Linked DNA regions of Homo sapiens: all the other regions are linked to region 1. Evidence: promoter capture Hi-C in human tissues and cell types (Jung and others, 2019). All regions are on one chromosome and are shown on one strand. Each heading gives the region's core, a stretch centred on a gene start or on the middle of the fragment in contact. The rest is flanking DNA. Distances are from core to core; before and after follow the strand shown. Region 1 holds the start of KCNV1 (potassium voltage-gated channel modifier subfamily V member 1). Region 2 has its middle 37 kb from the start of KCNV1. Region 3 has its middle 40 kb from the start of KCNV1.

Region 1 (4,017 bases), core at 1,137-3,636:
TGTTTGGCAGGTGGAACTTTTTTGTGTGTGTGTAAAGGAAATGTATTCATGAAGAAATGGTAGTAATAGCAAGGTAACCTCAGAGTTCCACAATCATTCAATCAAGGGACCAACCTTTTATCTTCTATATTTAAAACAATTCTCCATTCAAGTTTTTCAAAGTCAGTGTTCTAGGTTTGATAAATGATAATGCTGCGTGCCAAATCTTTTATCCCTATGCATGCATTTTTGGAGCATGGCGTTTCTGATTCATTTATTCAGTCACCAAATATTTATTGTGGGCCTGAAGTCCCTTGCCTTATACGTTAAATTAGCATACTCAAAAAAGGGAACAAAGAGATTCAAAAAGTTCTATTCAAAAGTTGGCGTTGATGCTTTCCAGTCCCCCACCCCCACCCCACCTGTCAGCCCAGAAGTGGCCACACCTTATTGCTAGGCCTGGCTCCAGCGAAGCTTGTGTAAAGCCTCAAATCTACCTGTGCCTTCCTCTCTTTCTCTGCCGCGCCCGCCTCCCCGCCCAGCCGCCGCGTGCCTCCGGGGTACCTGTCCCTGCAGCAGGAATCGATGCTGAGCTCATCGATGCCCCAGTACTGGATCTCCTGCAGGAAGGAGAGCGCGCACAGCTGCTCCATGACATGCAGGCGGCCGGTGCGGTAGTAGTGCAGGACATATCGGAACGCCTGCGAGCTGCGGTCGAAGAAGTACTCGTTGTCCACGGGGTTGGCATCGTCGCAAAGCTCCAGAGGGCTGGGCACGGCGGCCAGGGCCCCGGGGCGGCGGTAGGAAGCCACCACCACGGCCAGCTTGCCAAGGCGCGTGTGCGGGAAGCAGGACAGCGCCTGCTGCGAGAGCACGAAGCGGCTGCCGCCCACGTTGACCGTGAAGCAGTCCCCGAGCGCCAAGGGCTCCCCTTCACCCTCGCTGCAGAAGACACTAGAGTCCAGGGAGGTCAGGGAGCCGCTGTCCAGCGGCGAGTCCAGCAGCGCTCTGCCGCTGGAAGGCATCTCTAACCCAGTCGCCGCGGCCTGAGGGCGCCACAAAGTTGGGGACACGCCGGAAGCTTTGGTCCCGCGAGGGCGGTGGCACGGCCCCTGGTGGCGGCCGGGATTCCCCGGGCTCCCGAAGGGGTTACCTCTCCTTGGCGCACCCTCTCCACCCGCTGTGCGCCTTCCTCCTCCTGCCGCTAGGGAGCCGGGAGTGCGCGGAAGCAGCGCACAAGTGGCAGAAAGAGGAGACAGGGAGCAGAGGAAGGGTCGCGCTAAGAGAGAGGATCAGGTGAGGTCCAAGCCCGACACAGTCCCTGTGCACACTGCCGGTCGCCCTGGCCCTTCCCAAACGTTGTCACCCCGCCTCCCAACTTCGCAATTGCGATTCCCAGCCCAGGAGGTGTACAGATTGAATGACTCGCTACTTGGTGGGTGGAGGGGTTGGGGAAGGGAGGAAGGAGGGAGATGTGGGGCGGAGGAGGAGGAAGAGGAGAGAAGATGACTCTTAGCTGAACGCAAGCAAGCAAGCAAGCAAGGGGGATGGCGAGACTCACTCCTGCCCGCAGGAGACCAAAACAAAAAGTTCAGAAAGCAAAGGAAGTGGTAACCGGGTCCCTTCCAACTTGAGAATTTATATTCCTCCCTTTTCTTTTACTGCTGCTTCATAGGCCTCCCCCGGGGTGTTCGCTGGGGGTGTGAGCAGGTGGGGGAGGGTTCTCTGGGTGAGGGGGCCGCACCATTTTCTCCCAATTCACTCTCATTCTAGTCTGATGATCACTGACGCTCCATTTTCTTCCGCCGTCTCCCTTAGGTTCTGACCTCCTGGTTGAGAAACAAGAATAATTAATGATGACTTTTTATTGAAGACCCAGTGGGTCACTAAGAACTAGGAGTGTCACTGTCAGCTCCCACCCTGTCGAGGGTCCACCTCGTGTTGAGGCACTTTTTTGAGGCACCCTTCCTTTTAACCATTTCTGTCCCTACAAGTTTCCCGGAGAGCAGGTGTTCTGAGCACAGCGGAGCTCTCATTTTAGAAGGAAAGGCAAAAAGACAAGGAATAGAACAAGCGTGGGCTGGGGCAGGAATTTAAATAGTAACGACGGCCTCCCTCGGTAAAGGGAGAAGCCGAGGCCAGCGCCCAGGTGAGACTAGAAGTGTACCCACGGGGCCCCTGGAAGCTGCGCTCCAGCCAACCTGTTGGACTCGGGGTGAGGAGGTGGGGGTGGGAGGGAAGAGCAAGTGACTCACCTGCAGCTCCCGGCACATCTGGTCTGCGCACAACCGGCGCCGCAGGTAACGTACTCTTCTTTTGATCCTCTTAGTCTACACGTGAGGTCTGACTCGACCGGTCCAGGAGGGAAACTGTGTTCCAGCTGAGCTCTACCCAGCGCCTGCTGCCTTGCCTTGCCCCGCCTCCACCTCCCTCCGGGCTCCTGGCCCCTGCGCTTACGCTAAGCGTGTCCGCCCCGCCCGCTCTAGCTCTGAGAGCCACTCGCCCAGTGCTTCCAGCACCAGCAGAGGGGAGTGGCAGGATCTAAGGGAGGGAGGTGAGACGGCGGGGGTGGAGGCGGGGGGTAGTGAGGTGCCCGGTGACACTCAATATTACATTCATCCTGAATACACTTGCAGAATTACTGCATTTGATTCCCGTTTCCCCGGATCTGTGCTTTTGTAAATGCTCCAGAGCAAAATTTCCAACTGGATCAGTGTGCTAAACTTGAGGTTAGGGCAGTTATATTAACTGCTTCATTTGGCATGGTTCAAGGTTTTCACATTTTCAGCAGGCATCTCAGAATCATGCATTTTTCAAGTCTTTGCCAGAGAGAGTGAACCACACTCATCTTCGTTGTTTTCTAGTATGTATATATAGAATACATATTGGAAAGCATATATTATGGATACACTTACATATATAAGTATATATTAGAAAGCATACACACACACACGTATTAGGTAGTATATATAAAGACATAAGCAGGCAGCCTGATGTAGTAGAATAAGCTTTTTCATAGATTGGACAGAAACGTGACTGTTTAGTTCTAGCTTTGCCAACTGGCTGTGGGACGTCTAGCTATCATTTACTTTGAGGGTCTCAGTGCCTTCCTCAGTGAAATTTCAAGCTTTAATGAAAACACCCAACATTTAATGGGTGCTTACTTTATGCCAGGAAATTTGTAGGCTCTTTATTCATGCAGTACCTTATTTAATCATAATGACAACACTATGAGGTAGCATATATCCATTTTACAGAAAGGAAAAGTGAGGCACAGGGAAATTAAGTGATTTGCAAAGGGCCACACAGTTCAAATCAAACCCAGGACTACATGTCAGAGGCTGCCTTCATAAACAAAATTCTAGAAACATTATTTTTTGTTGATAAATCAGTGTGATTGTTTTTATTTTCTTTGTTTACAAGTTTCTAATGAAGGACAGGAGTTTAATGAGGTATTTTCATCACTCTTTCAACAAAAGTTTACTGAGCATTCACTATATACTGGCACTATTCAAGGTACTTGCGATGTATCAATGAAGAATAGACAAGATCTCTGTTGTTGTGGAGCTTATAGTAATCCTCTGAGAATAAATGGGGGACTTCAATAAACTTTTTTAAACTATAATATTTATAAGCATGGTTCTTTTGACAGCCATCCATTTGGTTAACTTTTCTCCTTAAAGAACTCTTCCATACAGTAAATACAGAAATGCTAGAATTATCCCAGTCAACAGTTCTTCATTCTGTATAGGTACTGTATCGTTATTATTTTTTAATGTAGCAGAGCTTTCCCCTGCACAGCAAGAAAACTCCTCCAGCATCTCAATTGTAGATTATATAGGTATTGAAAAAAAGCAAAAGGCCATAGTTCTGTTAAGGCTTATTCATACCATGATTAGCAATGAAAGTCTATACTAGCTTTACAGATTATGGTGAGGAAAGAGGAAAGCATTCAAAGGAGAATGCCAGCTTTAGGTGAGGAGAGAGATCTTGGACAGGTAACCAGAGGTTAGTGAAAGATGACTGAGGCTTCCAGGT
Region 2 (4,254 bases), core at 295-2,794, 37 kb before region 1:
AAGGCCAAACTAAACTGATCTGTTTTTATCCATGCAACTATTTGTTAGCATCTTTGCAGGAGGTAAGTCTCTCTCTCTCTTTTTTTTAGACTAGGTCTTGCTCTGTTGTCCAGGGTGGAGTGCGGTGTCAAGATGCAGCCATGACTTCCCAGGCTCAAGTGATCCTCCCACCTCAGCCTCCCGAGTAACTGAGACTACAGGCATGTGCCACCATGCTAGGCTAATTATTTACTTTTTTTTTTTTTTTTATAGAGAATAGGCCTCACTATGTTGCCCAGGCTAGTCTTGAATTCCTGGGCTCAAGCAAACCACCTGCCTTAGCCTCCCAAAGTGCTGTGATTACACATGTGAGCCACTGTGCCCAGCCTAGAGGTAAGTGTCTTCTAATGGAAACAAATAAATAGCTAGTGCCCTTATAATTATGCTGAAGTAAAATAAGCCTGAGAGAGAAAATAACCTATCTGGAATCAAATTATTACGTGCAGTGTGGACAGTGTGGATATAGAATTTGATTAAACATTTAAATGAGCATTTAAGAAAATAACTAAAATGTAATTTTGAAGGGAATTTTAAACAACCTCATATTTCACTGGAATTGTTAATCCTCCTGTCTTCACATTTTAAAGGCTGAATTATTAAACATTATAATAATATCTTAGTCACCTTAAGTGTCAAATAAATTACTTAGAGAAGTGATCTGAGACTTTCAGTGAATCATTAAAGACTCCTTTTTTTGTGACTTAGTCCCTTCTCTCTGGAACAAAATAACATATATTTTGATACAACACATTGTTAAAATCAGAAAAAAATTGTTTTAAGTTTCTTCAACTTTTGAATAAATTTTATTTGAAGTAGTTTTTGAGTACAAAAACATTAAGAAGATAGTAGAGAGTTCCCATATACTACTCTACAAAGTTCTTTCCATTGTTAACATCTTTCATGTTAGCATTGCATTGTTACAATTACTTGACACAATTAATAACTAATATAATATTAAATACAGTTTATAATTTATTCAGAGGTCCTTAGTATTTACCTAATACCCTTTTCTGCCCCAGTTTTCTATCCAAGATACCACTAATTACATTTAGTTATCGTGTCTCTTTATGATCTGCCTGGATGTGAGAGTTTCTCATACTTTCTTTGTTTTTGATGCCTTGAAAATTGTGAGGAATACTGGTCAGCCATACAGTAGGATTCTTCTTTCTGGGAATATGGCAGACTATTGTAGGATTCTACTCTCTTAAAATTTGCCCATTGTTTTTCTCATGATTAGACTGGGGTTATGGGTTTTGGAAGGAAGATCACAGAGGTAAAATTTCATTTTCAAAAAATCATATCAAAGGTATTAGTCAGGGTTCTCTAGAGGAACAAGACTAATAGAATATATATAGATAGATATAGATATATATCTTATTATATATAAAACACTATATATAATATAGTGTTTAGGTTTAAAATGAAAATTGCAAAAATAAAATTTTGGTCTAAAACTTATAAATTATATGTGAATATAATGTAACAGAAAAATGACAATAAAATGTTTCATGCAATTTTTAAATACTGCCTACATATTTTTCCATGAATATAATAAAATGTATTGTGTATTGAGCATATAATAAGTACCCTACTTTTTATATACTTCATCTCTACTCTTTATGACAAACATAAATTATTCTCTTTTTATGCCCATTTGAAAAGAAGGAAAAATGCCAACATGGCAAGATTGTGATTACACTCCAAATTTGTCTTGAGTCCAAAAACTGTTGCTTTTCAGTGTATGATATTGAAGTTCAGTTGAAGATTTGCTGTCTCAAATAACAGTCAATAACTAGTATAATCAGCAAAGGTCAATAGGTAGCTCCTTGTGAAACAGACTTAGACATAAATTTGAAAAAATAATTAAGCCTTAATACAATTTTTAATTATAGGGAGGACAAGGTCCCACAATAGGCTGTTTGCAAGCTTGAGGAGCAAGGAGAGCCAGTCCAAGTCTCAAAACTGAAGAACTTGGAGTCCAATGTTAGAGGGCAGGAAGAATCCAGCAGGGAGAAAGATATAGGCTGGGAGGCTAGGCCAGTCTCTCTCTTTTTCACGTTTTTCTGCCTGCTTTATATTCACTGGCAGCTGATTAGATTGCGCCCACCAGGTTCAGGGTGGGTCTGCTTTTTCCAGCCCACTGACTCAAATGTTAACCTCCTTTGGCAACACCCTCACAGACACACCCCAGGATCAATATTTTGCATGCTTCAATCCAATCAAGCTGACACACAGTATTAACCATCACAAGTCTACCCGTTTTCAACTTGAACCCATACTCATCTCCTAAGATAATACATAATTTTCAAATAAAGACAATAATAAGGTCATAATTACACCTAACATAATACAAGTATCCTTCATACAACTGGAAACACACCAATCCCCAACCCAAATACTATTACATAAAGTTAATAATACTTAAATGCTGATATGAAGTCAATAAATTTTATGTCACATGATAAAGGAAAAGGAAATAAAATGAAGAGATTTTCTTAGTACAAGTGTATCCATGCACAAACATGCTTTTAACAACAGAAAGAGGAAATACTCATGACAGTTACAATCCTCATTTCTGCAGCTGGTCACGTGGTCGTAGCTGGTATTGATGACTACCTTCTTCTACTACCCATTCTGTATTCCCTTTGCCTTCAGCAAGCACCTCAGCAGGTTGTGGTTTTTTTCCTGGTGGAGTGACTCAAGCCTTCATTCCTGAGGGGTCTGGACCATTTGTAGTCCGGCCTGGATTGGGCTGTTGTAGTTTTCCACTCACCTTAATCAGGGCAGGGTAATACTAAGAGATGCCCTAATAGATCTCCTGTATTGAATGCATACTCTTTCTTACCTTTGTTACGGAGTAGTAGACTGATTTCATCTTAACAGTCTGGGTCAATCACCCCAGCCAACACTGTAACTCCCTTCTTAGCCTGTTGACTTAAAGGTAGGAGGAGCCCAAAGTGTCCAGGTGGCAATGCTAACTTCCAGTTTAATGGAATCATTGTTGTGTCCCCTGGTGGCAGCATTCCTTCCTCTGGAACTAAGACTTCTAGGTCAGTAGAAAATAATGTTGCAGGAACAGGAAGCAAAAATTTTGCTAGTGGGTCAGTAGGGGTGATGGTGAGTGGTGCCACTTTCACTTCCACCCCTTGATTCCTAGACCTATTAATCCTGGCTATGGGAAAAACAGTACCATATGTTGGATGCTGGTTATTCAGAACACACACGGCCTTCTGGAGAACTGCAAACTATTGTCACCTAGTTTGCCCTGCAAACTGTTGTCACCTAGTTTGCCCTGCAAATTGTTGTCACCTAGTTTGCCCTGTAGACTGTTGTCACCTAGTTTGCCCTGCAGACTGTTGTCACCTAGTTTGCCCTGCAGACTGTTGTCACCTAGTTTGCCCTGCAGGCTGTTGTCACCTAGTTTGCCCTGCAGGCTGTTGTCACCTAGTTTGCCCTGCAGACTGTTGTCACCTAGTTTGCCCTGCAGGCTGTTGTCACCTAGTTGGCATTGTAATTGTTACTTCAAAAGGCCATTCCACCGTTCTATCAATCCAGCTGCTTCAGGATGATGGAGAACATGGTATGACCAGTGAATTTCATGAGCGTGAGCCCACTGCCGCACTTCTTTAGCTGAAAAGTGAATGTCTTGGTCAGAGGCAGTGCTGTGTGGAATACTCTAATGGCAGATAATACATTCCATGAGTCCATGGTCTTGGCAGAAGCATTGCGTGCAGAATAGGCAAGCCCATATCTGGAGTGTCTATTCCAGTGAGGACAAACCTCTGCTCTTTCCGTGATGGAAGAGGTCCAACATAATCAACCTGCCACCAGGTAGCTGGCTGATCACCCCGAGAAATGGTGCCACATCGAGGGCTCAGTGTTGGTCTCTGCTAATGGAAAATTGGGCACTCAGCAGTAGCTGCAGTCAGGTCAGCCTTGGTGAGTGGAAATCCATGTTGCTGAGCCCATGGGTAACCTCCATCCCTGCCACCATGGACACTTTGTTCATGGGCCCATTGGGCAATGACAGGGGTGGCTTGATAAATAGGCTGAGTGGTGTCCACAGAACAGGTCATCCTATCCACTTGGTTATTAAAATCCTCCTCTGCTGAGGCCACTTGTTGATGAGCACTCACATGGGATACAAGTATCTTCACGGTTTTTGACCACTCAGAGAGGTCCATTCACATACATACCTCTTCATCAAATTTCTTT
Region 3 (4,232 bases), core at 1,262-3,761, 41 kb after region 1:
CCTCATCATTTCTGATTGTCTTTATTTGAATCTTCTTTCTTTTTTACTTTATTAGCCTAGCTAGCAGTCAATAAAAAAATCAGCTCCTAGATTCATTGATTTCTTTGAAGGGTTTTTCATTTCTCTATCTCTTAAGTCCTGCTCTGTTCTTGGTTATTTCTTATGATCTGCTAGCTTGGGGTTTGTTTGCTCTTGGTTCTCTAGTTTTTTGTTATGATGCTAGGTTGTTAACTTGAGATCTTTCTAGCTTTTGGATATGGACATTTAGTGCTATATGTATATTTCTCTTAACACTGCTTTAGTGGTATCCCAGAGGTGCTGGCACATTGTCTCTTTTTTTTTCTTATTAATTTCAAATAACTTCTTGATTTCTATCTTAATTTTATTATTTATCCAAAAGTTATTCAGGAGCAGGTTGTTCAATTTCCATGTAGCTGTATGGTTTTGAATGAATGTCTTAATCTTGAGTTCTAATTTGATTGCACTGTGGTCTGAAAGACTGTTATGATTTCAGTTCTTTCGCATTTGGGGGAGTGTTTTACTTCCAATTATGTGATCAATTTTAGAGTAAGTGCCACGTGGCAATGAAAAGAATATATATTCTATTGTTCTTGAGTGGAGACTTCTGTAGATATCTATCAGGTCTACCTGATCCAGAGATGAATTCAGGTTTTACATATCTTTGTTAATTTTCTGTCTCATTGATCTGTCTAATAATGTCACTGGGGTGTTAAAGCCTCCCACTTATTATTGTGTGGGAGTCTAAGTCTCTTTGAATGTTTCTAATAACTTGCTTTATGAATCTGGGTGCTCCTGTATTGGGTGCATATATATTTAGGATAGTTAGCTCTTTTTGTTGAATTGAACCGTTTACCATTGTGTAATACCCTTCTTTGTCTTTTTTGATTTTTGTTGGTTTAAAATCTGTCTTTTCAGAAACGAGGATTGCAACCCCTGTTTTTTTCTATTTTCCTTTTGCTTGGTAATTTTTCTTCCATCTCTTTATTTTGAGCCTATGTGGTCTTTGTATGTGAGATGGGTCTTTTGAAGACAGCATACTGGTGGGTCTTGATTCTTTATCTAGCTTGCCATTCTGTGTCTTTTAATTGGGGTATTTAGTCTATTTACATTTAAGGTTAGTATTATTATGTGTGGATTTGATCTTGTCATTATGATGCTAGCTGGTTATTTTGCAAACTTGTTTATGTTTTGTTTTTCCTTTGCTTTTTACATTTTATGTATAGTTATGCTTTGATTCTTATTTTTTTCTACTAATTTTTTTTCTTTTCTAGTTCCTTGAGGTGCATTGTTAGGGTTGTTTATTTGAAATCATTCTACTTTTTTGCTATAGGTGTTAATTCCTATAAAATTCCCTGTAGGCACTGCTTTTGCTGTATCTCATAGGATTTAGTATGTTGTATTTTCATTTTTGTTCATTGCAAAAAATTCTTTTATTCCCTTCTTAATTTCTTCATTAATCAAATGGTTATTTAGGAGCATGCTGTTAAATTTCCATGTATTTGCAGGTTTTCAAAATTTATCTTGTTATTAACTTCTAGTTTTATTCTATTGCAGTCCTAGAAAATACTTAATATAATTTAGTTTTAAAAAATTTATTAAGACTTGTTTTGTGGCCTAACATATGGTCTATCCTGTTGAATGTTCCATATGCTGGTGAGAAGAATGTGTATTCTTCAACTGTTGGATGAAATGTTCTGTAAATATCTGTTAGATCTACTTGGTCTAAAGTGCAGTTTAAATCCAGTGTCTCTTTGTTGATTTTTTTTTTTTTTTTGGTCTAGGTGATCTGCCCTATGCTAAGAGTGAGGTGTTGAGGTCCTCAACTATTATTGTATTGGTGGCAATTTATCTCTTTAGATCTAATAATATTTTCTATATATATCTGGGTGCCCTCTTGTTGGGTACATTTATATTTAGAATTGTTATATCCTTTTGCTAAATTGATTCCTTTAACATTATATAATATCCTTTTTTTGTTTCTTTTTACAGCTTTTGAATTGAATAATTTTTTTTTTTTTTTTTGAGACAAAATCTCCCTCTGTCGCCCAGGCTGGAGTACAGTGGTGCGATCTTAGCTCACTGCAACCTCTGCCTCCCGGGTTCAAGCGATTCTTCTGAGTAGCTGGGATTACAGGCATGCGCCACCACCCCTGGCTAATTTTTGTATTTTTAGTAGAGATGGGATTTCACCATGTTGGTCAGTCTGGTCTCAAACTCCTGACCTCGTCATCTGCCCGCCTTGGCCTCCCAAATTGTTGGGATTAGAGGCATGAGCCACTGTGCCCAGCCAGTCTGTTTTATCTGATATAAATATAGCTACTCCTGCTCACCTTTTGTTGCTATTTTCATGAAATCTTTTTATACCTTTTCACTTTCAGATTATATGTGTCTTTAGAGGTAAGTGAGTTTCTTATAGGCTTCATATAATTGTCATTTTTTTTAAAATTCATGCAGCTAGTCTCTGTCTTTTAAGTGGGAAATTTAGTACACTTACATTCAAGGTTATTGATAAATGAGGATTTACTCCCATCGTTTTGTTATTTGTTTTCTGATTGTTTTATATATCCTGTAATTTTTTCTTCCCTTTTTATTGTTTATCATTGTGGTTTGGTGGATTTATATAGTGGTAACATTTGATTCATTCCTCTTTCTCACTTGTGTGTCTGTTTTACCGGTGGGTTTTATGCTTTTGTGTGTTTTCATAATTGTAAATATTATCTTTTTCTCCACATGCAAAATTCACTTAAGTATTTCTTTAGGGTTGGTTGATTGGTGATGAATTCCTTCAGTTTTTGGTTGTCTGAGAAAGACTTTATGTCTTCTTCATTTTTGAAGGTAAGCTTTGCAGTGTATTGTATTCTTGGCTAGCATTTTTTTTTTCTTCTCAGTTCTTTGAATACATTATCCCATTCTCACCTGGCCTGTAAAATTTCTGCTGAGAAATCTGCTGTTAGTTTGATGAGGATTCCCTTATGTATGACTTGACATTATCTCTTTTATAATAATTGCTGTTTTTATAATTCTCCCTTTGTTTGACTTTTGAAAATTTGATTCTAATATACCTTGGAGAAGATCTTTTTGTGTTAAATCAATTTGGAAATTTTTAAGTTTCCCCTATCTGAATGTCTATATGTGTTACATGACTTGGGAAGTTTTCTGCTATTATTTTGTTTAAACGATTTTATATGTTTTGCCCATTCATCTCTTCTCCTTCTAGAACACCTAGTTCAAACATTTGGTTACTTTATGATGTCCCCTATGTCACGTAAGATTTATTTATTGTTTTTTATTGCTTTATTATTTTCCTCTTTATCTAACTGGGTAGTTTTATTTTACTTTATTTTTTATCCATCCCCTCAAACATTTATCATTTGAGTTTAATAATTCAATTACATTCTTTAAGTTACTTAAAAATATACAAGTAATTTATTACTAACTACAGTCACCCTATTGTGCTATCAAATAGGAAGTCTTATTCACTATTTTTTTTTTGTACTCATTCATTGTCTCCACCTTCCTCCCACCCCCGCTTCCCAGTTTCTGGTAACAATCCTTATACTCTCTATATTCATGAGTTCAATTGATTTGATCTTTAGATTCCACGAATAAGTGAGAACATGTGATGCTTGTCTTTCTGTGACTGGCTTATTTCACTTAATGTAATGATCTCTGTTCCATCCATATTGTTGCAAATGACTGGATCTCATTCTTTTTATGGCCAAATAGTTATCCAGTGTATATATGCACCACATTTTCTTTATGCATTCATCTGTTGATGGACACTTAGGTTGCCCCAAACTTTAGCTATTGGAAACAGTGCTGCGACAAACATAGGAGTGCAGATATCTCTTTGATATACTGATTTCCTTTCTTTTGAGCATAATTGGGTAATTTAAAGACTTGTCTCCAGGTTTAGAAATTTTTTCTTCTGCTTCATCTAGTCTATTGTTGAAACTGTTTATTGTATTTTAAAATTTCATTTATTAAATTCTTCAGTTCCAGGGTTTTTGCTTCATTTTTCTGAATCTAACTCTTTGTTAAATTTCTCCTTTAGATCATGAATTGTTTTTCTAATTTCTTTGTATTTTTTATGTTTTTTCATTTCCATCTCATTGAGCTTCTTTTATATCATCATTTTGAACTCTTTTTCAATTTTTTCATAGATTTCTTTTTTCGTGGAACCTATTGCTGGAGAATAATTGTGTCCCTTT

What was found. Contacts are between HindIII fragments. The study calls those that stand out against the background at their distance.
Region 2: a fragment that was not itself captured here is called in contact with the fragment with the promoter of KCNV1 in region 1 in 1 of the 25 tissues and cell types used here (pancreas).
Region 3: a contact is called between a fragment that was not itself captured here and the fragment with the promoter of KCNV1 in region 1, in 1 of the 25 tissues and cell types used here (adrenal gland).

Annotation. Positions count from the first base shown.
Region 1 is chr8:109,973,385-109,977,401 of GRCh38, forward strand. KCNV1 (potassium voltage-gated channel modifier subfamily V member 1) reads right to left here and starts at 2,387. Exons shown (of 4, transcript NM_014379.4): 1 at 2,235-2,387; 2 at 544-1,808. The coding sequence starts at 1,004. RefSeq lists an enhancer at 876-1,473. The HindIII fragment of the contact is 3,330 bases long and covers 757-4,017 here.
Region 2 is chr8:109,936,749-109,941,002 of GRCh38, forward strand. No RefSeq gene overlaps it. Among named protein-coding and RNA genes, the nearest start is that of KCNV1, 37 kb to the right of the region's middle. The HindIII fragment of the contact is 4,605 bases long and covers 1-3,847 here.
Region 3 is chr8:110,013,814-110,018,045 of GRCh38, forward strand. No RefSeq gene overlaps it. Among named protein-coding and RNA genes, the nearest start is that of KCNV1, 40 kb to the left of the region's middle. The HindIII fragment of the contact is 7,276 bases long and covers 1-4,232 here.